4 separate regions of the Homo sapiens genome follow, and regions 2, 3 and 4 are each linked to region 1. The links are contacts of gene promoters, found by promoter capture Hi-C in blood cells and fetal thymus (Javierre and others, 2016). All regions are on one chromosome and are shown on one strand. Each heading gives the region's core, a stretch centred on a gene start or on the middle of the fragment in contact. The rest is flanking DNA. Distances are from core to core; before and after follow the strand shown. Region 1 holds the start of RPL24 (ribosomal protein L24). Region 2 has its middle 240 kb from the start of ZPLD1. Region 3 has its middle 230 kb from the start of RDUR. Region 4 has its middle 170 kb from the start of RDUR.

What was found. The method cuts DNA at HindIII sites, captures the fragments that hold promoters and counts their contacts. A CHiCAGO score of 5 or more calls a contact.
Region 2: a fragment that was not itself captured here is called in contact with the fragment with the promoter of RPL24 in region 1 in 1 of 17 cell types (naive B cells); the score reaches 5.2 in naive B cells.
Region 3: a fragment that was not itself captured here is called in contact with the fragment with the promoter of RPL24 in region 1 in 1 of 17 cell types (activated CD4 T cells); the score reaches 5.3 in activated CD4 T cells.
Region 4: a contact is called between a fragment that was not itself captured here and the fragment with the promoter of RPL24 in region 1, in 1 of 17 cell types (naive CD4 T cells). The highest score is 6.0, in naive CD4 T cells.

Annotation. Positions count from the first base shown.
Region 1 is chr3:101,684,012-101,689,714 of GRCh38, reverse strand. RPL24 (ribosomal protein L24) reads left to right here and starts at 2,997. Exons shown (of 6, transcript NM_000986.4): 1 at 2,997-3,043; 2 at 3,158-3,233; 3 at 3,787-3,897. The coding sequence starts at 3,039. LOC124906262 (endogenous retrovirus group K member 5 Gag polyprotein) reads right to left here. Exons shown (of 3, transcript XM_047449415.1): 2 at 2,326-4,820. The coding sequence starts at 2,336. RefSeq lists enhancers at 1,237-1,790, 2,701-2,750, 2,761-3,250, 2,221-3,420, 3,411-3,600 and 2 more. The HindIII fragment of the contact is 5,611 bases long and covers 1-3,726 here.
Region 2 is chr3:102,193,155-102,198,857 of GRCh38, reverse strand. No RefSeq gene overlaps it. Among named protein-coding and RNA genes, the nearest start is that of ZPLD1, 240 kb to the left of the region's middle. RefSeq lists an enhancer at 2,954-4,153. The HindIII fragment of the contact is 165 bases long and covers 2,398-2,562 here.
Region 3 is chr3:102,168,812-102,174,514 of GRCh38, reverse strand. No RefSeq gene overlaps it. Among named protein-coding and RNA genes, the nearest start is that of RDUR, 230 kb to the right of the region's middle. The HindIII fragment of the contact is 1,196 bases long and covers 1,699-2,894 here.
Region 4 is chr3:102,108,574-102,114,276 of GRCh38, reverse strand. No RefSeq gene overlaps it. Among named protein-coding and RNA genes, the nearest start is that of RDUR, 170 kb to the right of the region's middle. The HindIII fragment of the contact is 5,780 bases long and covers 12-5,703 here.

The DNA of each region.
Region 1 (5,703 bases), core at 1,748-4,247:
AAATTGGAAGAGCAAGGAACACGTTCTGCCTTAGATCCTTGATCCAGAGAGCACAAAGATACCTTGATTTCAGCCTAGTGATACTGATTTTGAACTTACTGCCTCCAGAACTGTGAGAAAATATGTATCTGTGTTGTTACCAAGTCCATAGTAATTTGTTACAGCAACTACAGGAAACTAATATAGCAGGGAAATATGTACAAATGGGTGACGAAACTGTGAAGGGAAGCAACACACTGTTCTCACAGGGACAGAGGCTGAAAAGGGCACCAAGTTTGGTTCAGTATTGCTCCATAAATGAATAAAAAGAGAATAGAGTGTAGCTGAACCTTTTGCCTATGATAAAAGCAAAAGCATGGATAAAGTCAGCAATAATTTACGGATGGTGTCAGAAGCTCTACTTTATGACACTGTATAATATAAATTCATTTAGAGGTCTCTCTCTGCAAAATTTCTCCCTATTCTAAGAGCATTTTGAGCACAATTTGTTTGTTATGGGAGTGTGTTACAAGGAACCCTGACAAGAAGGCCCTCCAGTAAAGAGTGAAATACAGCCAAAATCCCTAAGGTCCAGTTTCCTGCATTTCTTCCACAGAACCAGTCAGGCCAAACGTAATTTTAAAGAACAATAAAACAAAATCTTTCTAAAATATTGGGAAGGGACTATAAATTCTGAGGTTCTGTGGAACAAAAAAGGACTGCATTCCTTCAGGTGGATCTTGGTTCCACCGGCTACCTAAACTCAGCTGTGCCTTGGATCTTGTAGAAGCCAGGACTATTTCTGAAAGATGTTTTGTTTTGGTTTTTTGTTGTTGTTGTTTGTTTGTTTTCACACGGAGTCTCGCTCTGTCGCCCAGGCTGGAGTGCAGTGGTGCGATCTTGGCTCTCTGCAACCTCCGCTTCCCGGGTTCAAGCGATTTTCCTGCCTCAGCCTCCCGAGTAGGTGGGACTACAGGCGCGCACCACCACACCAGGCTAATTTTTTTTTTTTTTTGTAGAGGCGGGGTTTCATCGTGTTACCCAGGCTGGTCTCAAACTCCTGACCTCGTGATCCGCCCGCCTCGGCATTCCACAGTGCCGGGATTACAGACGTGAGCCGCTGCACCCGGCCTCCTTTTTTTTTTTTTTTTTGATATGGAGTTTTGCTCTTCTTGCCCAGGCTGGAGTGTAGTGGCGCGATCTTGGCTAAATGCAACCTCTGCCTCCCGGGTTCAAGCGATTCTCCTCCCGCAGCCTCCCGAGGAGCTGGGATTACAGGCGTGCGCCACCACGCCCAGCTAATTTTTGTATTTTTAGTAGAGAAGGGGTTTCACCATTTTGACCAGGCTGGGCTGGAACTCCTAACCTCAGGTGATCCGCCCACCTCGGCCTCCCAAAGTGCCGTAATTACAGGCATGAGCCGCCATGACTGGCCACCTAACATCATTCTTAAGACTGGTTCCAGGCCCGGCGCGGTGGCTCACGCCTGTAATCCTAGCACTTTGGGAGAACGAGTGGATCACCTGAGGTCAAGAGTTTGGGACCAGCCTGGACAACATGGTGAAACCCCATCTCTACTAAAAATACAAAAATTAGCCGAGCGTGGTGGCAGGCGCCTGTAATCCCAGCTACTCGGGAGGCTGAGGCAGGAGAATCAATCGTTTGAACCCAGAGGGCGGAGGTTGCAGTGAGCCGAGACCGCGCCACTTCACTCCAGCCTGAATGAAAGAGCGAAACTCCGTCTCAAGGAAAAAAAAAAAAAAAAAAGACTGGCTCCAACACAATTGTACAGTTTTCATGACATTAGTCAGCCAACTTGTTAGACATTCCAAATATCTTCAACCAGCTACCTTACAAAACGTTTTTAGGGTGAGTTGCATACATAGAAAGCAGAACTCAGTCATTACATTTGTTTCCTAGTCATATACTGCAACCTCCCACAGAATTCAAGAATTGCCTCTGGCCACTCCTTGTCATACGATGAAATATGTAGCATCATAGAAGGGCTCAACAGATTGAGCCCTTGGCCTCCCAGCGGGGCTCCACCGACCCCCTCAACTTCACTAGGCAGCAACTCCGAATTGTAGTTCTTAGGCAGGTACTTAATAGGAATTTTGGAAACTGAATGAGCTCATGTTTAAAAAGCCTTTGGCATAATTCCCGGCACAGAGAAAGCGCTCAAAGAATGTTAATTATAATTAATGCAAAGCGCCAACGCGCACTGTTCGATTCGCACAGCCTGAGAAACGGTTCGGTTGTCATTACTTTCTTATAAATGGTGAAACTATTAATTTGTTTGGTTGAGGAAATGGGCCAACAGGGAAGGCAAAATGTGACTGGTTTTACCTGCGGGGCATTCGTCTTTGGGTCTCTTTATGAGAAGAGAGGACACCTTTCTCTTCAGTTCACATTCCCTGCAGCCGGAAGATGGCTCTAGGATACTTGGCAGTAAGAGAGGCAGAATGGGCCGGGCGCAGTGGCTCCCGCCTATAATCCCAACACTTTGGGAGGCCGAGGAGGGCGGACCACCTGAGGTCAGGAGTTCGAGACCAGCCTGACCAACATGGAGAAACCCCGTCTCTACGAAAAATACAAAATTAGCCGGACGTGGTGGCACATGCCTGTAATCCCAGCTACTAGGGAGGCTGAGGCAGGAGAATCGCTTGAACCTGGGAGGCGGAGGTTACGGTGAGCCGAGATTGCGCCACTGCACTCCAGCCTGGGCAACAAGAGCGAAACTCCGTCTCAAAAAAAAAAAAGAGAGGAGAGACAGAGACAGAATGACTCATAAACCAACTGTCTGACTGCCTTTTTGGCAGGCCCTCTGGGCCCGAGAACCCTCCAGCGCCTCTGGATGAATTGCGCCAGAGGAAGTCAGCTGTCAGGGAAAACGAGATCTTTCGCCTCGCGATGATTACGTCATCAAGGAGGGCCAGGAGCATCGAAGGATATTGGGGAGGAGATTTCCGGCCCCCATCCCCGCAGCGACCTTATAAGGTCTCTTCCCATGATTCTCTCTTTCTTTTCGCCATCTTTTGTCTTTCCGTGGAGCTGTCGCCATGAAGTAAGCACGACCCGTGGTTCCCAATCCGCTTACATCCTCGGGCAGAACTCCTCTCTGTCGTCCCTGGCATGGCTGTAGACACCCTCCCTGATGGACTTTCACTTTTTGTTGCAGGGTCGAGCTGTGCAGTTTTAGCGGGTACAAGATCTACCCCGGACACGGGAGGCGCTACGCCAGGACCGACGGGAAGGTAAAAAGCCGCGTCGGCTTCACCTACCTTCTTGTACTCCGAGGAGGAAAGGCTGGTTTAATTCGGTTTAGGCGGGTTTATTCCCCACATCACCACTGGCCTCTGGAAGTCTTCGTGGACGCTCTGTGGACTGGTCGTTAGGACCAGAAACCTCTAAGTGAACCAGTGTTGATTATTTATTGTGAGCCAGGTCGGACATCAGGAGGGGTTTATGTAACTGATGTCCCGGTGTAAGGGAAATAACTGAGGTACGGAGGTACCCTTTGGAATCCTGGGACGGACAAGAGCAGAATGCTTCCCAGAAGGACGCACCACCCTGTCCTTTGCTATGAGCCTAGATTTCCTGCTCTCGAGAAAAGACTAAACGCAAGGACCTTCATAGTGTGACACAGTTACCTGCCAGTTATGTGACAGCCTTTTGGTCCTTGTGGGCCTCAGTTTTGTAAAATGATAAGCCAGAACTAGCATATTGATCTTCTAAGGATTCCAAGCTTACTCAGCCTCTTGTACTTTGTATAGTTAAATAGTAATTCCTTTGCATTTGTCACTCTAGGTTTTCCAGTTTCTTAATGCGAAATGCGAGTCGGCTTTCCTTTCCAAGAGGAATCCTCGGCAGATAAACTGGACTGTCCTCTACAGAAGGAAGCACAAAAAGGGACAGTCGGTAAGTGGAATACGCCTTGATGTTGGGGGCTATCTCTTAAGTTGTCAAAGCTCTCTGAACGTTGGTTTTCTGCTCTGTAAAATTAAATCAGACTGTATGCGAAAGAGCTCTTAAACTGTAAAGCGTCAGCAAAATGAAAAAGATATTATAAACTGTCTCTATATATTTTAGGCTAGTAGCAATACCGAGTTGAAATTTTAAAGTCAGATAAATTACGTTAAGCACCTTTGCGTTATAGGGCAGGGTGGAAGGGCTTAGTTTTCCAGTGGGAGGAAATTGAGAAGTTACCATAATTTGGTTTTGATTGCAATATTTACAGGATTAGTCCTAACATAGCCAGTGGACCATGAACCAGTCCACCATACACTAGTTCATTCACTAGAAAAACAGTGGTTTTTCTGGTCCTTGTTAAGTGTCCTTTTAGCTGGGTTATACATGAGAAAAAGTTTGAGTGCCATGGTAGGACTAGTATTCAGGAGGCTTGGGAATACTTACTGAACACCTTCTGGATGAAGGACTTTTCTAGGTATTGTGAGAAATAAATGCCATCAGACATAAAATATGTTGAAAGTTCAGAGGAAGGAGAAACTTAAAAGTGGATATGACACACCTATTAGGGTGACTATTCAGGAAAAAAAAAAACAGGAATTACAGGTGTTGGTGAGGATGGGGAGAAATTGGAACCTTTGTGCATTGCTAAATATGCAACAGCTGTGAAAAATCATTTGGTGTTTTCTCAAAAGGGTAAACATAAAAATTATCCCAGCAGTTCCACTTCTAAGTTATACCCTAAAACAGTTGAAAGCAGGGACTCTATAACTTGTATATCAGTGTCATAGCAAATCCGGGCTTGGTGGCAGCGGCTGTACTCTAGCTCCTCCGGAGGCCAAGGTGGGAGGATTGTTTGAGGCAACATAGGAGACCTTTAAAAAAAAAAAAAGTTATTTAGATGGATAATGGTGATAGCTACACAGCGCTATGAATGTACATAAGGCCACTATACCTTTTTTTTTTTTTTTTTTTTTTTTTTTTTTTTTTTTTGGGGAGACAGGTCCTCTGTTGCTCAGGCTGGAGAGCAGTGGCAGGATCACAGCTCACTCCACCTCAACCTTATGGGCTCAAGTGATCCTCCCACCTCCGCCTACCCCGTGGTCCACAGGCACATGCCACCATGGCCCAGCTATTTTTTAAATATATTTTGAGGAGACAGAAATCTTTGCGATGTTGCCCAATTTCGTCTCAGATTCTTGGGCTCAAGTAATCCTCCTGCCTTGGCCACCCAAAGTACTGGCATTACAGGCGCGAGCCATCCTGCATAGCTAAATTATAATTTAAAAAGTTAAAATGAGGCTGGGCATGGTGGCTTACATGCCTGTAATCCCAGCACTTTGGGAGGCCAAAACGAGTGGATCACCAGGTCAGGAGTTCAAGAACAGCCTGGCCCACAGAGTGAAACCCTGTCTCTACTAAAAATACAAAAAAAAATTAGCCGGACATGGTGGCAGGTGCCTGTAGTCCCAGCTACTTGGGAGGCTGAGGCAGGAGAATAGCTTGAACCCAGGAAGTGGGGGGTTGCAGTGAGCTGGGATTGTGCCACTGCACTCCACCCTGGGTGACAGGGTGAGGCTCCATTTAAAAAAAAAAAAAAAAGTTAAAATGGGCCTAGTGCAGTGCCTCACGCCTGTAATTCCAGCACTTTGGGAGGCCCAGGCAAGAGGATCCCTTGAGCTTGAGCCCAGGAGTTTGAAACCAACCTGGCAACATAGTAGTGAAGACCCCAGTTTCTACTTAAAAAAATAGAAAACA
Region 2 (5,703 bases), core at 1,231-3,730, 510 kb before region 1:
CAGAGTAGATGGAAAATGGGTTTTAATCAGGATTGAGGTTCTGTCAAGTTATAATAAAGCAAGAGAGGGGCTTGAGGTATTTGAGGCTGTATGCATGGGAGTGAGAAATAATTGACATGGAATTTAATCTGGATAAAGAAAGAAATAAATACATAAGGAATAATAAATAGTGAAAAAGTAGAAGAACCAACACACTGAAATCCATTCTGGGATTAAGGGATAGATGGAGTTCAGGTACTAAAGAGAGTGAGCTAGAAATGTAGGGCAGGGCACTAGACAAAGAGATCAGAGAGTAGCATATATAAAATTGAGATTATGAAGGGGTTGCAGTCATTGGGAATAATAAGGCCTAGGATATTACCAGGGAAATGAGTGGTTGAGGTAGAATACAGAGCAATATCATCATTGTAGGGGAGTTCCAGAAATGGAAAAGGCAGTGTTGAAGGAATCATTTGTGCTGTGATTTTTGTTGAAATCACCAAGAATTGAGACAGGAATAGTACTGAAGAGTGTAACAAAGAGCCAGTAGCTAAATTCATCCAGAAACAAATAATCCAAGGACCAGAGATGAAGGACAGTAGAAGGTATAGTATGATGAAGTGAGACTCAAAGTTCGAAGAGCTTAGGGTAGAATGGAAGAAGAACAGTCTGAAAATGGTAGTAAGAAACAAGGAGGGACACCTAACCCATATCTAGACTCAGTGGAAGTAGAGTTTCAAGAGGAAAAAAAAATGTCACCAAAGGAAAGGGCTACAGGCGAAGTAGGATCCTCAAAAAAGATCTTGGTTTTGGTCAGAGCAGGAAGGTGAACAAAACTGTGTCAGGGTCCAATCAGGAGAAAAGAACCCACATCAGATAGTTTATTTTACTCAAGGAGTTGGTTATGTTAATAAAAGTTACTGGAAGAGCTGAGAAGCCCAATGAGGTACAGTAAAGAAACTCAGAGATTAACAAGAGTAGAAGGCCACTGTCAGTGATTTTTCTGGAAAGCCCAGAGAAGGAGGAGATGGTTCCATGCCCAGGAGCTCAGCCACCTGGCAGGACCTGGAACCAGGTGGAAGCTGGGACCAAAGAGGAAGTTCATCCAGAAGGAACCAGAACAAAAGAGAAGACACTGCGAGAGGCTGATGTGGAGAGGATGGGGAGGAATACCCTGTTTCTCCTTTACCACCACTCGTTAATGTCCCACCAGTGCTTTCTGTTTTCTGAGCCTAGATGGCAGCCAGGTGACAACAGAGCTTTTGCCAAGCTCTGTCACCTGTAATAGAGAGCAGAGGAGAGGAAAAGTGGGAAACAGGCCTGAAAACAAGCAGGCAAATGATCAGCACAGGAATCCAAACAGCTGATGCTACAAAGGTTTGGCTATGATGTTCCATGAGTTCCTGAGGGTCCAATGGAAATATTTCAGGAGCTGGGGAGGGATTGGACATGGTACAAAATCGAGCATGTGCAGAATTACATGAAAAGTGCGGAAGATAAAGGGAGACCAGAAGAAGTCTGGGGCTTCTTACAGCAACTGAAACAAACAGGAGTTAAGAAAATAATGAGGCTGGTCCTAGTGAGCTGCAAACAGATGGTATCAGGGAGGGCTGGGGACATGTGGTTTACTATTTTTTGGCATTAATGTTAGAAAAGGCCTGCGCACATATGTAAGTCAAGAAAGAAGTGGCTATGGAAAGTAACAGAGATGGATAACAGCAGAAAAAAAAAGAAGAGAAGAGATTAAAAGAAGAAAAAACAGTTAATCAAGTGTAGGAAGCATCTTAGTCTACAAATTCTGATATGTGAGAAATACAGCTTTATTTGTTTCAGAAACCAATCTCTTTCTCGAGTCCCTATTCCACTGAGGTAGTAGAAATGTAACCTAATTCTCTCCAAGTTTTATTTTCATCTAAATTCTTCAATCTTACTTAGTACTAAGGTGTGTGTGGTTGACATGCCTGTGTGTGGCTAGTGTGTGTGTGCACATGTGTGTGATGGGAGTGGGCAATTGAAGGAACACTTGCATTTGAACCTCAGAGTCATCTCACACTGGCATCTACTGTCCCATCTCAGATCACACATCCTCCTCAGTGGCTGGTCCATCTGGGCACCTGAAAAAATGTCCTTGGTTTCCACCTGCACGGTCCCTTCAGGAACTCCTTCTCCACCATTCTTGGTTGCAAAGATGTCATTTGCTGCTCCCTCATGATAATACGGTGTGAGAAACTCTAGGAGCCGTCTAACATCCCATCTGGTTAGAGCCACATGGCAGAGCTGTTTTCCCTTCTCTCACCAGCTGCTCTGAAGAGAAATGAGGTATAGGCTGTCTCTCCTCTCAGATCCCCCAAGCTATCTAGAGCTATTGTCAAAGCCTCCAGCTTGGCACAGGACCTTTTCCAGGAACCCCCCCAAGCTTCCTTGCCTTTTCTCATTTATTTCTTATTCTGATAGCCCAAGGAATCCTTCCTGGTGGGGGAGGCCATGGGTGAAAAGTTTTCCTCCCTAGTTTCCAAGCCGCTTCTGTCTTGGTCTCACTCCTGTTCTAAGCCCTCATGAAGAAACAAAAGCCCCAACAAAGCTTTTTCCCTCTCCTGAGGCAATACATATGGGCTAGTTATTTATATGGAGGCAAGTAAGAGACAAAGAGGAGAAAGTGCCATGGGGAAAAAAAAAAAACCATAGGATAGTCTTTCAAAAATATTATACCTCCCAGAATCCGAGACAAGGTAGCAGCAGGCTGGCCTAAGCATCACACAAGAGCAGAGGAAGGCTAACAGTAAAGAAACATTTTGAGTTGGAGATTACAATTCATACTAAATGGTTATATTTTCTTAAACATTTCCCTTTCATAGGATGAGCTTCTCTGTCAGGAAAAAGGTGAGATACTTTCTGGGAGTAAAATGAGGTCGAATTGAAGAAGGTTTACTAAGGACAATCAGCTCTAATAGCCCTTTGAACCATTAACACGTGGGTTTCTCACAACAGGTAAGGTTGGCATCACAATTCCCTTTTACACATGACAGAATGAAAGCCTGGGCATTCATCCAAAGTCACATGAACCAGTGGCAGTGCTGTGAAGGTTTGAGGTGAGTGGAAACGTTTATTCCCATCAACTCCTGGCTTCCTTCTTCTCCCATGACTGAGCTTTAAAACGTAACTTGTCTTCAAGTGTATAAAACTCTCCAATCAGTGATTTAAGAAAAAAATTTTCTGTGTCATTGACAGGAGTTGTTACCTGCTTGAGAAAATGAAACCAGGACGTGACTCAGCATGGAAAAGTGGGAAGTGATTTTGTGGGAACATTATCTCCTACAGTAACCAATTTTGCTGGGGCTTTGATTTGCTAATGAGCAATACTTCCACAGAAACATACATATTTTCATCATATAACTCCTAAGAGCAGTGCACCTGCCTCCTGGGACAGGCTGGCACAGGCACATTCTTATGCTGGAATCTGTGTCCCAGGGGTCAAGTGGGATGGGTGGAGTACATTTCTGAAGCAGCCTGAAGCAGGAAGAGCAAGAGCTGTGTAATTGTTCAGTCTTTGGAGAGCACCAAAAAGCAGACTCCGGAAGCAGAGTTCAGCCATCAAGTATAGAGCAGAGAGGACACCAGAGGCAAGATCTGAAAGTCCAAAGCAGGTAGAAGCAGCACAGAAGTGAAAATAATAGTCTAGGGGAAGCTTAGCCCTCCAGACTTTACAAGAAGTCAGCAAGTGATATTAGAAAAGAAATAATTATGCTTTAAATACCATCCCCCATGTAAATATTTCTTTTTTTAACTTCATTGTTTAATAACAATGGGTTATAACAGGCAAATGATTTTTTCTGAGATGGGGTCTCACTCTGTTGCCCAGGGTAGAGGGCAGTGTTGCTATCATGGCTCATCACAGTGGGGCTCAAGCAATCCTCCCACATCTGCCTCCAGAGTAGGTGGGACTATAGGGGCGAACCACCACATCTGGCTAATTTTCATTTTCATTTTTATTGTAGAAGTGGAGTTTCACCATGTTGCTCAGGCTGGTCTCAAACTCCTGGGCCCAAGCAATCCTCCCACTTTAACCTCCCAAAGTGCTGGAATTACAGGCATGGGCCACTGCACCCAGCCAGACATGTGATTTTTAATTTGACTTTTTTCTTCATATATTATGAATATTTTACCTTTCCTTTATTTTTCAATCTACAGCAGTTTGATTTTTGCTATGACTGCTCCCTTGTCTGCCCTAATAAAAGAAACAAGTGGTACAATCATTGCTAAATCTAAGGCCACCTCCAGTCTTGTCTTACTTTTATCTTCCTTGGCCACTTCTTCCATAATCAAACATCCGTCCTTTGACTTTCTCAACATGCCTTTATCCTGGTTTTCATCTATTTCTAGCTGTTCCTTCTGATCTCCTCGTTAGTCACTCTCTTCTGATAACCCTTGAATATAGAAGCCAGACCCCTCTCCCTTTCTATTTTATTTTACCCACCACCTCTGCATTTTGATGCATATATTCAAATATTTAGCCCTATCCGTTCCTGACTTCTGGACCCTTATGCAACCTGGATTTCCCACTGACTCGTTAAACTCAACATGCCCAAAGCAGAATTTCTTATCTCTTCTTCCTTCTCAAATATGAGGATCGTCTTTCTTTCAGCTTGGAGGCAGCAATCGTCACAGTGCCCTCTTGCCTCTTCACCGTAGTAACATCAATAACCACAGAGTTGACATTTATGGAACTCAAATGCTATGTTAAGACTTTACAGACATTTTTTAATTTTCTCAAGAAATCTATGAGGTAAGTACTATCATCACCCTTACTTTACAACAAGGAAATTAAAGCTTAGGAAGGTGAAGAAACTTGCTCAGGGACACCCAGCAAATAAGTGACAGATCTAAATGTCAGACATAAAAATGTGTCTCCATAGCCCAGAGATCACACTCCTAGCCCCACACACTCTCATAAAAAGACTCACTAAGTCTGGAATTGTGAAAAATGAATGTTTACAAATGTGAGAAAATAAAATAAAATTCAAAATGTAAAAATTGATTAAGATGAAAACATATGTTGTTTATTCAAATGTAAGTGTCCACCTGGATCAACCTGGCTGGCTCAGCTTGGCAGTCAGTTCTGGTTTCTTCTTGCCACAATCTTGTCTATTTTGAATGCTAGACTACATTGAGCAGACCCTTTGTCCAAGGGAGACCTGGCTTCCAGATCCTGTAGGATCTTCAGCTTCTTCCAAATGCTGCTTATTAGAATTAACCTCACATCTTTGAGCTAGTAGACTCCCCTTTTGGTCTGAATTGACCCTCTGAGCCCAGCCACATTCCCTGCAATAAGAAAAGCACTTCCCTAACTTAAAACCAAGCTTCAGACCTCTCTGAAACTACTTGCTCCTCTTCCTCTCTCTAAATGACTCAACTGGAAGTTCTGACATTTCCATAACACATTCTTCTATGTGTGATTTGGTACTGAATGATATGTTACACTAAGTGATTCCCAAGGCTGGTGCGACCCCTTAGTAAAGACCAACATTACCCATTTCCCATAACCCAGGCTGTTGTCATGGCCTGTCTAGTGGTTCTGTGGCCCAGATTTCATCATCCTTGGAGCCAATCTGGATTTGTCAACTCCCACCCAATCCCCACCCCATTCTTGCCCCCATCCCCAAGGCCTAGAAGACTTTTTAATGATTCCTTCAGTTTTTTAAGACACTGTCCCTCCACCGAACTTTC
Region 3 (5,703 bases), core at 1,047-3,546, 490 kb before region 1:
TAACGTGAATACTATTTACCCTTTTTCCACCTTCTGCCTTCTGTCAGCTTAATGTCCTCCCATTCATTTTTTGCTTTCCAGAAGTTGAGGGAAATACCAATCATATGTGGGGAATTCTATTTTGGTACATAATAAGGGAATTTTCTTGATTGTTCATGTTCTGTGCACTCTAGGTTTTTTGGTGCTTTTTGTATCTTCCATAATCATTGAAAACTCCCCCAAAAAGCATAGGTTATTTTACTGTTACATTTATTAATAAAATCCAACAAACTTTTCTTTATAAATCCATTTTTTTTCTATCTTGTGTGAGTCTGGAAGCCACAATAATGTCAATATTGTCTTAACATTAAATCTTAGTCAAAGAGGACCGTGGCTCATTTTTTATGTATGCATATTTGATATGGCTTTGTTGTTTTGGTAAACAATTCAAACAGTACAGAAAAATACAAAAGGAACATAATTGTCACCTGAAGTTCAGCCCTCAGATGTTTCCAATGTTAGCATTTCTCTGAACATATGCCCCAATGTATCTCCGTGCCTACAGACACATATGGAAATGAATATACAATTTTATATTAAGGGGATCTTTCTATTCAGACTGTTTGAAGCATGGTTTTTTCACTCGACCATATCTTGGACATGTGATTCCATGCTTATAAAATCAGAACTCCAGCCAGGCGCAGTGGCTCACATTGTAATCCTAGCACTTTGGGAGGCTGAGGTGGGCGAATCACGAGGTCAAGAGATCGAGGCCATCCTTGCCAACATGGTGAAATCCCATCTCTACTAAAGATACAAAAATTAGCTGGGCATCGTGGCAGGCACCTGTAGTCCCAGCTACTTGGGAGACTGAGGCAGGAGAATCACTTGAACCTGGAAGGTGGAGGTTGCAGTGAGCCGAGATCACGCCGCTGCACTCCAGCCTGGGCGACAGAGTGAGACTCCGTCTCTAAAATTATAATATAATATAATATAATATAATATAATATAATATAATATAATATAATATAATCCTCGCAGCTTGCAAGGCTGAGTGTAATCTGGCCGTGTCCACTTTTCATATAGCATTGGCGACTTCTCCCACCTTAGTCATCTCACTGGCCTCCTTGTCATTCCTCAAGCAAACAAAGCTTATTCCTACCTGATGGCCTTTATATTTCTGCTTCCTTCCTCCTGGAATGCTTTTCTTTCCATTTTTTCTTTGAGAGACCACCTCATGCTTGACGTTTAGATCCCAGCTGAAATGTCCTCTATTCAGAGATCTCCCACGATGACTTTATCTGAAGGGGCTACTCAGTCCCTCTACATTTAATTACCCTGAGTTATTTTCATAATAATGTTATCTCTGTCTGAAGTTATTTGATTAAGTTGTCAAATGACTGGGACATTTTTAATTGAATCATCTTAACAATAAGGAGGTTAATAAACAAACCAACTGTACTTCAAGCAAATCAAGACATTATCAGAAGCCAAGACTCAAAGAACAATGGGCATGACTTTAGAATAACTTAGGGATCCTTGACTTACATCTACAAACATAAAAGAACAACTGGAATGTCATCTAGAGCATACCAAGAATTCTCACAGTTATTGTTTATAAGTTAAAGAGTTTAAACCATCCTGGTATAGATTTCTTTATTATAATATTTATAAACTGCAAGACAGTTGTCAAAATCTAAATTTTAGGTTACATAAGCTTCCAATAAGTAAAATTATCTTTATGTTGTAAGGAAGATTAGAAGTTTAGCTTCAATGATGAGGTCCCTAAGACATAAAAATGGTAATAAAATATCTTTTCTCAAAATCTACTCATTAATAAACAATCTGGCAATGGAGTCTATAGCCAGATTTTCTGTGAGTAATTGTAAGTATAAATCATACTATCATTTGAGAAAAACATGCATCTCATCTCTAAGAGGAAAATTTTTAGAAACATTGAGAAAGAGTGACCTGGTTCAATTAACATGAATACCATGGACATTTGAAGAAAAAGGAGACTAATGATTCTAAAAATCATTTAATAAAGAGCACTTTATTTGATTTAAAATAAAAATAAAAACCACTATTTTGAGGGCTGTTTTGGTTATTTCTTAGTAATAAATTCACAGGGCTCTAGGACTCTCAGAAGCATCCTGAAAAATGTGAACACAGGCACTAAACATATACATTAAAGATTAATTAGTAGAAAACAATTCCTGTAGAATTCAGAACAAAGTGCTTATAGTTCATTTAAGTAAAAAAAAAAATGTTATTTTCCAATTTAAAGGATACTTGGAAATTAAGCATTTCTTTCTTCCCACTGAACTATATATTTTAAGACAATTTGGGATCTTCAGTTGGCCATGAATGTCTATTGAGTATGGATGTGTTTCCTCTACCCAGAACTTGAACTCATTAAGGGAGGGAAGCATTGTTAATTTCATAATTGTACAGAAAATTCCACTGTAGAAATGCCTGCTGTAACTGAAGCATTGCGTCAAGCATTCTGAAGTTGTCAAATGAAATTAAATGATGAGAATAATTTTGGAGATGGTTGTTTTGTACTTTTGGGGTGAATCAATTTTTCTGTCCTTTTATTAAGTATGTTACAAGTCTACAATGTTCTTCCCATTACTCCCCAAATACAATAATCAAAATCTCCCATTCTACTTGCACAACATTCATATCCAGTCTTTTTAGGGCTCCTTCTCCAGGTGTTTTTAAGGTTTTCAATGATTGCATGTACATGTTCCACAACTCTGTGTAGGTTGTTGGATATCCATTGTCAATTCAGGCAGCTGCTCCACAGATCTCTGCTGCTGCAGCTCTCCAAAGTCCAGGCCACAGTGTCCAGTAATACTTTACTGAAGACTGGGGCATTATAAAGGGAAATGGGGAGTCAGAGACAGAAAGCTTAAAATGGAATTAATTATTTCTCCTCCTAAAGACAATTGGTCATATCTCTTCACTGGAAGTCTCTCAACTGATCTCCATCCTCCTTAATGTTGATGCTTACTGCCAACACGTTACTTCCCATAGACAGAAGCATCCTAAAGGGACCATTACCTTTCATTGCTCCCCCTACTTAATCAACATGAAATCATAAAATGTGTAGGGATGCCACTCTGCCCACAAGAGTCAAGAGTTCCTATAATAGAACAGTTGAATTTTTCTTTATTCCTAACTTTTGCAATATAGAATGGCATTTTGGATTTACCTATGGATAACTGGAAGGGGACATTAGAGTTTTGCCCAAAAGAAAAATACAATCTTGACCCAAAGATAAATTATGGCTCTACCCTTAGAGCAACAGAGAAAACTACTAAGAGCTTTAAAATCATAATCTGGTAGTTTGAATGAATAAATTAGATCTACAATATAAAAAGATCTGGAAAATATTAAAATGTTGCAAAATAATATAGCATAAAATAATTTCTGTAAATGTATTTTATATAAAGATACATATGGACAGTAAGTGTACAGAAACATGAGCAGGGAGGCTCTTCACCAATCTTAAAATATTGGTTGTCCGTGGGGAAGCAGACAGAATGAGCTATGAAAAATAATACAAATGAGACTTCAATTCTATAAGATTTTATTTTCAAAAATAAAATGAAAAAAATGGCAAAATATTTACATATTATAAATCCAGGTGGTAGACAAGTGAATGAATAAATATATTTAGCAGTTCTGGTTCTGATATTTGCAGAGTAGCTTATGGTAGATAAACCATTCCATAGATAACAATCATAAAGTCTGGACAAAATTTAAGAAACAACACGTTGACGTCACTGTAGCATGACCAAAAGAAGATAGATACCAGGAGGGAATTATACTGTGTAATGTAGGTATATTAGGCTTTTCCACTTTGTATATTTTCCAGTCTGTATGTCTCACCTACAATTCAAGCAGAAAGATGCAGGTTTGTTGGTGTCAGTTGTCAAAGGGCAGAGTTTGGATCCAAGAGTCCCAGTGGAAAATAACAACTGGAAAGCTAAAAGAACTTAGCAGAGATTTGGCTGCTCTGCTTTACAGAGAAGAGTCTAGAGTCTGCAGCGGGGGTTTGGTTAACATCTTGGGCTTTCTACATACTCATCCAAATAAAACTGAAAATCAACCTTTTGCCTAACAAACTTAAAACCAAATTACAATTAATCATCCAGTAATTTAATTTCCTGCTATGTTATTATATACTAGATATGAAGAATGACACATTGTAGAGATCTGGATTCTATTATCTTCCTCTGAAGTGTGTTGATTTGTTTTTCTAACAGGTAATTAGATTAATACCTGTGCAAATCACCCCAACTCCCAGGCACTCTTACAGCTGTGGTGATGGTAATGACAACAATGAGCAGAAGAAGGGGAAAATTTCTCTCTGGCCAGATGGTCTGATTCTTGGTGGTGCCAAGAATGTGCAAGGCAATCCACTGCTTTTTTTCTCTCTATCCTATCATGACTTAGCCCAGATGCAGAGGCAGTTCTAAGAAATGTACAAGTTCTAAGAGTGGGGAGACTAAGTCCCTAGGTTCCTTGCCACAGGAATGGAGAGTAGTGGGTGATGGATACCAGGAATCAGAAAATGTCAGGAATATTACAGAGAGGACAGAGCTGAAGAAAATGATCTCATAAATTGCCTGCAAACTTTTAGTCTCACTTTAAAACTGTGAATGAATGGATCTAATCCTAAACAGCAAGATTCAGTTGAGAACTGAACTACAACATAGATCACTGAATGGATCCCAAACTGGCCACTGATGGTGCACACATAGGACAAATAAGAAAAGTGCTACATATTAATAGATTTTGAAAACAGAACAGGCATAGAACCACCATCTACAGAAAGGTGGTTAAGAACCTGGATATAACCAGTTTAATTGTCCAACTAAAAGAAAAAATATTTTCCATAAGATTTAAACAAGGCCTATAAATTGCTTTGGCTGTATGTCCATTTTAACAATACTGATTCTTCCCATCCGTGAGTACAGAATGATTTCCCATTTGTTTGTGTCATCTCTAATTTTTTTTAGCAGTGTTCTATAATTCTCACTGTGGAGACCATTCAACTCCATGGTTAGCTGTATTCATCAGTATTTTATTCTTTTTGTGGCTACTTGAAAGTGGAGGGTGGGAGGAGGGAGAGGACAGAAAATCTACATAACAGGTTACTATGCTTATTACCTGGGTGATGAAATAATCTGTACACCAAACCCCCATGACATGCAATTTACCTGTATAACAAACCTTCACATGCATCCCTGAACCTAAAATGAAAGTTAAAAAAAAGTAGAAAATAAACAAGACCTACAGTCACATAACGAAGTATTCAAAATATTCAAAATATCCAGGATATAATCCAAAATTATTTGATACACAGAATGTGAGAAACATTTCAACATCTTGCAAAGTAAAAGGCAATTAGTATATGTTAATTTCAAAATTACCTGGATATATTGATATTGTTAGATAATGCCTATAAATAGCAGCTCTCATAACCATGCTCTAAGAAATAAAGTAAGCATTCAGGAAACAAACAGAAAGATAAAAAGTCTCAGCATATAAACAGAATATATAATAAAGAGGCAAATAAAAATTTTAGAGCAAAATAGTATAACAACGAAATAAAAAAGCTACTCGATGAGCTCAATAACAAAATGAAAGTGACAGAGGAAAGCTTTAGTGAACTTGAAGATAGATTACTAGAAATTATCTAAGCCATACACA
Region 4 (5,703 bases), core at 1,652-4,151, 420 kb before region 1:
TATAGAAAGCTTCTTACTCTTAAAGAAATTATCTAGATTGATTAATGTTCTAGTGTTTATTGAGTTTCCAGAGTAGCTGGAAGGTCAAGGGAGGTCTTGAGACCTTTATTTTTCATGCTGTTTATGTTTAACAAAAATTTCTTCAAATCCAAAATGTTGTCATCTGGTCTCTAACAAAAATAACAACTTAATAAAAACATTTGATAAAATCTCTGTGAACCTCAGGTTTTTCATCCATAAAATAGACATGACCAGTAATAGCAACAAAGCCAAACATTGAGATGACAGGGCTGCTGCTGAGTGGGCTCAGCCTCCTCACTTCGAGCCATGTTGACTGCCTCGTGGAGGCACCGTGAGCTTTCTCAGCGGTCTAGTGGAGAAGTGAACTCAGCCGAATGGCTTGCATGACACGAGGTGTTGCAGGCTGCTTCACAAAGGCCACTAACATGAATAGTGATCTGTCGGAAATTTGACCGAGCAGCTCACCTGATTAGAATGTATTGCAAAATAGCGACATTTTTGTTCAGACAACTCTGCTACAATATCCTTAATGTCTGCCCTGTAGTAAAGTATAATCATTAAATATGCAGACTTTGGAGTCAGTTAATCTGATATCCAGTCAGTTCACCCACTCACTAGCTGTCGATTAACCTCTCTACGCTTCATTTTCCCTTGTTTGAAAATGGAGATAGTAGGGTTTGTTTAATCAGGTTATTGGAAAGATTATGGCATATTTCCTGTAAACCTGTCAGCACAGTATGTGATCCATGGTAAGTCTCAGTAAACATTAACTTCATCATCATCATCATCAACCTTGAAAGGAGAAGAGTCACTACTTAAAAATCTACACATGACTTGGGAGTGTCGATTTTTCAGTTTCTAGCTATCAGGCTTAAATATTTAAGAATCATTCCAAAGAGTAAATTCAAATGGGGGAAGAAATGCTGAAACTTCCTCCTGACATTCAGTCTTCAGCATAAGGAATTTCTTCCTCATTTTTCAGTTTTTGTCCCTATTTGTTTGTCCATGTGTTTGTTTTTTCCTTTCCTAAGTTGAGATGGAGAATTTCTACTATGTCAGAAACCCTTTGTATCTGAAGTTTGTAACTGGACAACTCTAAGCCTTCTTTTCTGCTAATTCCAGCATTGCATAACACAACTGAAGTCAGATTCTACTTTCAAGATAATTCTTTTATTCTTTATAAAAATTAAATAATGTATGGTGAAAGTGTGTGTAAACAATAGGTTTCCATTAAAATGTCACCCATTATCATATTTATTGTTTCCTTAGATCCTTCAAATATCATAAAACATTGTCACCCACACTGTAAAGGTAACTGGGTTAACTAGTTTGACTAGTTAAAGGGAGGCCAATTGTGGGTTTTACTCTGTTCTTCCATCTCCAACATGAACTGCCTTTGGAACAGGTCATACAAACCAGAAGAGAAGCAATCAGCTATAGATGACAGCTAAAGAGCAGAGGTGCATAATTTACTCCAATGATGTCTTCCCCAAAACATAAATTCATAAAAATGCTTAAGATCACCATAGATAAATGTCAGTATGGCTCCTCTGGTTCAGTAGACAATAATCTCATAAGTAGCATATTCAGCTAAAATTAATTCTAAAAGTCCACAATTTATTCCAAAAGTATAAATCTGCTTTTACCTGAATTATTTATTCAAGTAGCACTTTTTTGCCAGAAAATAATGGTTTTTATGTAAAATCCAAAATCACTAGGGATTCTTCAAAATTTTGCATCTGATATAGGGTTTAACACTTAACATGTGGCATAAAGAGAAAAGGAAAGATGTAGAGGTTACCTGAGCTTGTATTACTGCTTCCATTTTTTCCTTCTTCAATTGCAACCACCTAACTTTAGGCCCTTCCCGTAACAAGAGGGGGTTAATAGGAAAGGTTCCTAAACAGACGTCATGCTTTATATGTAAAATGCCAAACACACAGCATACACTCTATACATGTTCATTTCTTCCCTCACACAACCCCAACTTCTGCATTCATTTGCTAGAATACTACTATATCGGTTTTCTCTTTTTACCTCCAAAAGAGCCAGTATAGCAAAAGATGTGTGTGTGTGTGTATAGTGAATATATTGAATATATATATTATATATATATAGTGTGTATATACAACACAGAGTTGACCTTTGAATAATGCAGGGGTTGGGGCACCAATCCTACCCCACTCCCCACCCCACCCCCACAGTTGAAAATTCACATATGACTTTTGACTCCCTGAAAACTTAACTACTAATAACCTACTGTTGACCAGAAGCCTTATTAATACTATAAACAGTTGATTAACACATATTTTGTATGTAATGTGTATTATATACTGGACTCTTACAATAAAGTAAGCTAGAAAAAAATGTTATTAAGAAAATCATGATTCTTATTTTTAATTTTTAAAAAAGAAAAAGAAAATCAGATGCAGGGTGTGGTAGCTCACACCTGTAATCCCAGCACTTTAGGAGGCCAAGATGGGAGGATCACTTGAGCCTAGGAGTTCAAGACCAGCCTGGGCAACATAGTGGGAACCCCCATCTCTTTTAAAAAGATATGAAGAAAATCATGAGGAAGAGAAAATATGTTTATTAGGTATTAGGTGGAAGTGGATCCTCATGAAGATCTTCGTCATCATGATCTTCATATTGAGTAGGCTGAGGAGGAGGAAGAGGAGGGCTTGATCTTACCATATCAAGGGTAGCAGAGAAAGAAGAAAATCCACAGAACTTTTAAAATAAATATAGTCAGCCTTGGCCGGGCCCAGTGGCTCACACCTATAATCCCAGCACTTTGGGACACCGAGCTGGGTGGATCACGAGGTCAGGGGTTCAAGACCAACCTGGTCAAGATGGTGAAACCCCGTCTCTACTAAAAATACAAAAATTAGCCGGGTGTGGTGGCACATGTCTGTAATCCCAGCTACTCGGGAGGCTGAGGCAGAGAATTGCTTAAACCTGGGAGGCAGAGGTTGCAGTGAGCCAAGATCACGCCACTGCACTCCAGCCTGGGTGACAGAGCAAGACTCTGTCTCAAAAACTAAATAACTAACTAACTAACTAACTAACTAAGTAAATAAATAAATAAAGTCAGCCCTGCGTATCCACGGGTTCCACATCCACAACCAAAGGCAGATCAAAAATACGGTATTCACGGAATGGGAAACTCATGGATATGGAAGACCAGCTTTTCCTATAAGCAGATTTCTCAGGTCAACTGCGGGACTTGTGGGACTTGAGTATGCAGGGATTCTGCTATATGCAGGGAGATGGGGTTCTGGAACCAATCCCCCACAGATACCAAGGCATAATTGTATTCAATTTGATTAGATAGAAAAGCATATCAGCTCTTTTGAAGAATAATAATGAGGCTTCAGTTAATTAGAAAAAGTTATGAAGGAAAAAATAGTAATATAAGAATTCGATATTTATAACAAAAACAATCTAAAAGAGAAATAGACCAATATTTTCAACAAATATTATTCACAGAGGGTATCCATCTATAGTACATAAGATCATACAAACTGATGAGAAAAATCATCAATATTCCAATAAATAAACTAGCAAAACACAAACAGTTAATTCTACAAGAGGAAATAAATAAATGAAAAATGCTTAATGTAGCTAGCAATAACAAAAATACAAATTAAACAATGAAACAGATAAAAAACTGAAGAACACAGTTTGGAGTCAGACTTCGCCTCAGATCCTAGCTTAATCACCTTACCAGCCATAAGATCCTTGCAAAGTGTTTACCACTCCAAATGTTAGTCCCCTCCTAATGAACATATTAACCTCACATGATTGTTTGGAGGATTAATAAAATAATCTTGTAAGATTTAAAATGTAAGGTTATATTCATATTGATTTCTAGCTTTCTTTCTATATTTTATGTTTATCATTCGTGTCTTTAAAATTAAGTATACTTTACAGTTTTTGAATATAGTATTCTATATATGTTCATCAGGTCACTTGGTTAATTTTATAGTTCAAATTTTCCATATATTTTTTATTTTTTTGCCAGCTTATTTTATTTAAAAGAATGTTAGAACTTTTTTACTATGTTTTGGCTTTAACCATTTTTTCATGCAGTTGTCTCCATTTGTTCTTATATCATATCAGGATGTATAATTGATAAATGCAAATTTGGAATTGTTAAATCTTCCTGGAAAATTGAAACTGTTATTATTATGAAGTGTTATTCTTTATCTCTAGGGATGCTTGTTGCCTAAAAGTCTACTTTGTTTGGTATTAATATATTCATACCAGCTTTAAAAAATAATAATAATCTTGATGAAGTACCTAATATAATACCTAATGCAAAGTAATTACAATTACTTAATAAATGGTTGTTATTATCATGATTATTGCCATGTAATTCTTACTATTCTTACTATTATTCTTACTATTATTATTACCATGTAATTCTTAAGAAACAAACATTTTAAATTAACACTTAAAATCTTCTCATTATATATTTCTCAAGATGGTGGTGGTAAAATTTGTGTACCCATTTAATAATAATGCCTTTTTATATTGGTCTAACTTTTGCTAAGTTCAAGTACAAAAATATTTATGTCATGGGAAAAGCTACTTGCAAACCATATATCCGATAGGGAGTTAATATGCAAAATATATAAGAAACTCAGACAAACTCAATAGTAAGAAAACAAACCATTTAATAAATGAGAAAAGAATCTGAATAGATATTTCTCAAAACAAGGCACACAAATGGCCAATAGGCATATGAAAAAAATGCTCAGCATCACTAACCATCAGACAAATGCAAATTAAAACCACAATAAGATATCACTTCATACCTGTTAGAATGGCTATTATCAAAAAGACAAAAGATAAGTGTTGATGAGGATGTGGAGGAAAGGGAACACTTGCACGCTGTAGTGGTAATGTAAATTAGTACAGCCACTACGGAAAACAGTATGAAGCGTCCTCAAAAAGTTAAATAGAGAATTATCCTGTGATCCAGCAATCCCACTTCTAGGTATATATGTAAAGGAAATAAAATCAGTATGTCAAAGAGACAGCCATACTTCCATGTTTATTGCAGCATTATTCACAATAGCCAAGACATGAAGTCAACCTAGGTGTCCATCAAGGGATGAATGGATGAAGAAAATGAGGTACAAACAATGGAATACTAGTCAACCTTAAAACAGAAGAAAATCCTGTCATTTGTGACAACATGAATGAAATCAGAGGACATTATATTAAGTGAAATAAGCCAGGCACAGAAAGACAAATACAGGTATATCTTAATTTATTATACTTTGCTTTTTTCTACTCTGCAGATAGCGGGTTTTTTTATAAATTGAAGGTTTGTGGCAACCCAGTGTGGAGCAAGTCTATTGGCACCATCTTTCCAACAGCATGTGCTCACTTTGTGTCTGTGTGTCACATTTTGGTAATTCTCTCAATATTTCAAATGTTTTTATTATTATTATATCTTTTATGGTGATCTGTGATCAGTGATCTTTGATTTTACAATTGTTATTGTTATTGTTTTGGGGTGCCACAAACTGCACCTGTATAAAACGGTGAACTCATTAAATGTGTGTGCTCTGACTGGTCCACCAACCAGCTGATTCTCTGTTTCTTTCCATCTTCTCAGGCCTCCCTATACCCTAAGATACAATAATATGGAAATTAGGCCAATTATTAACC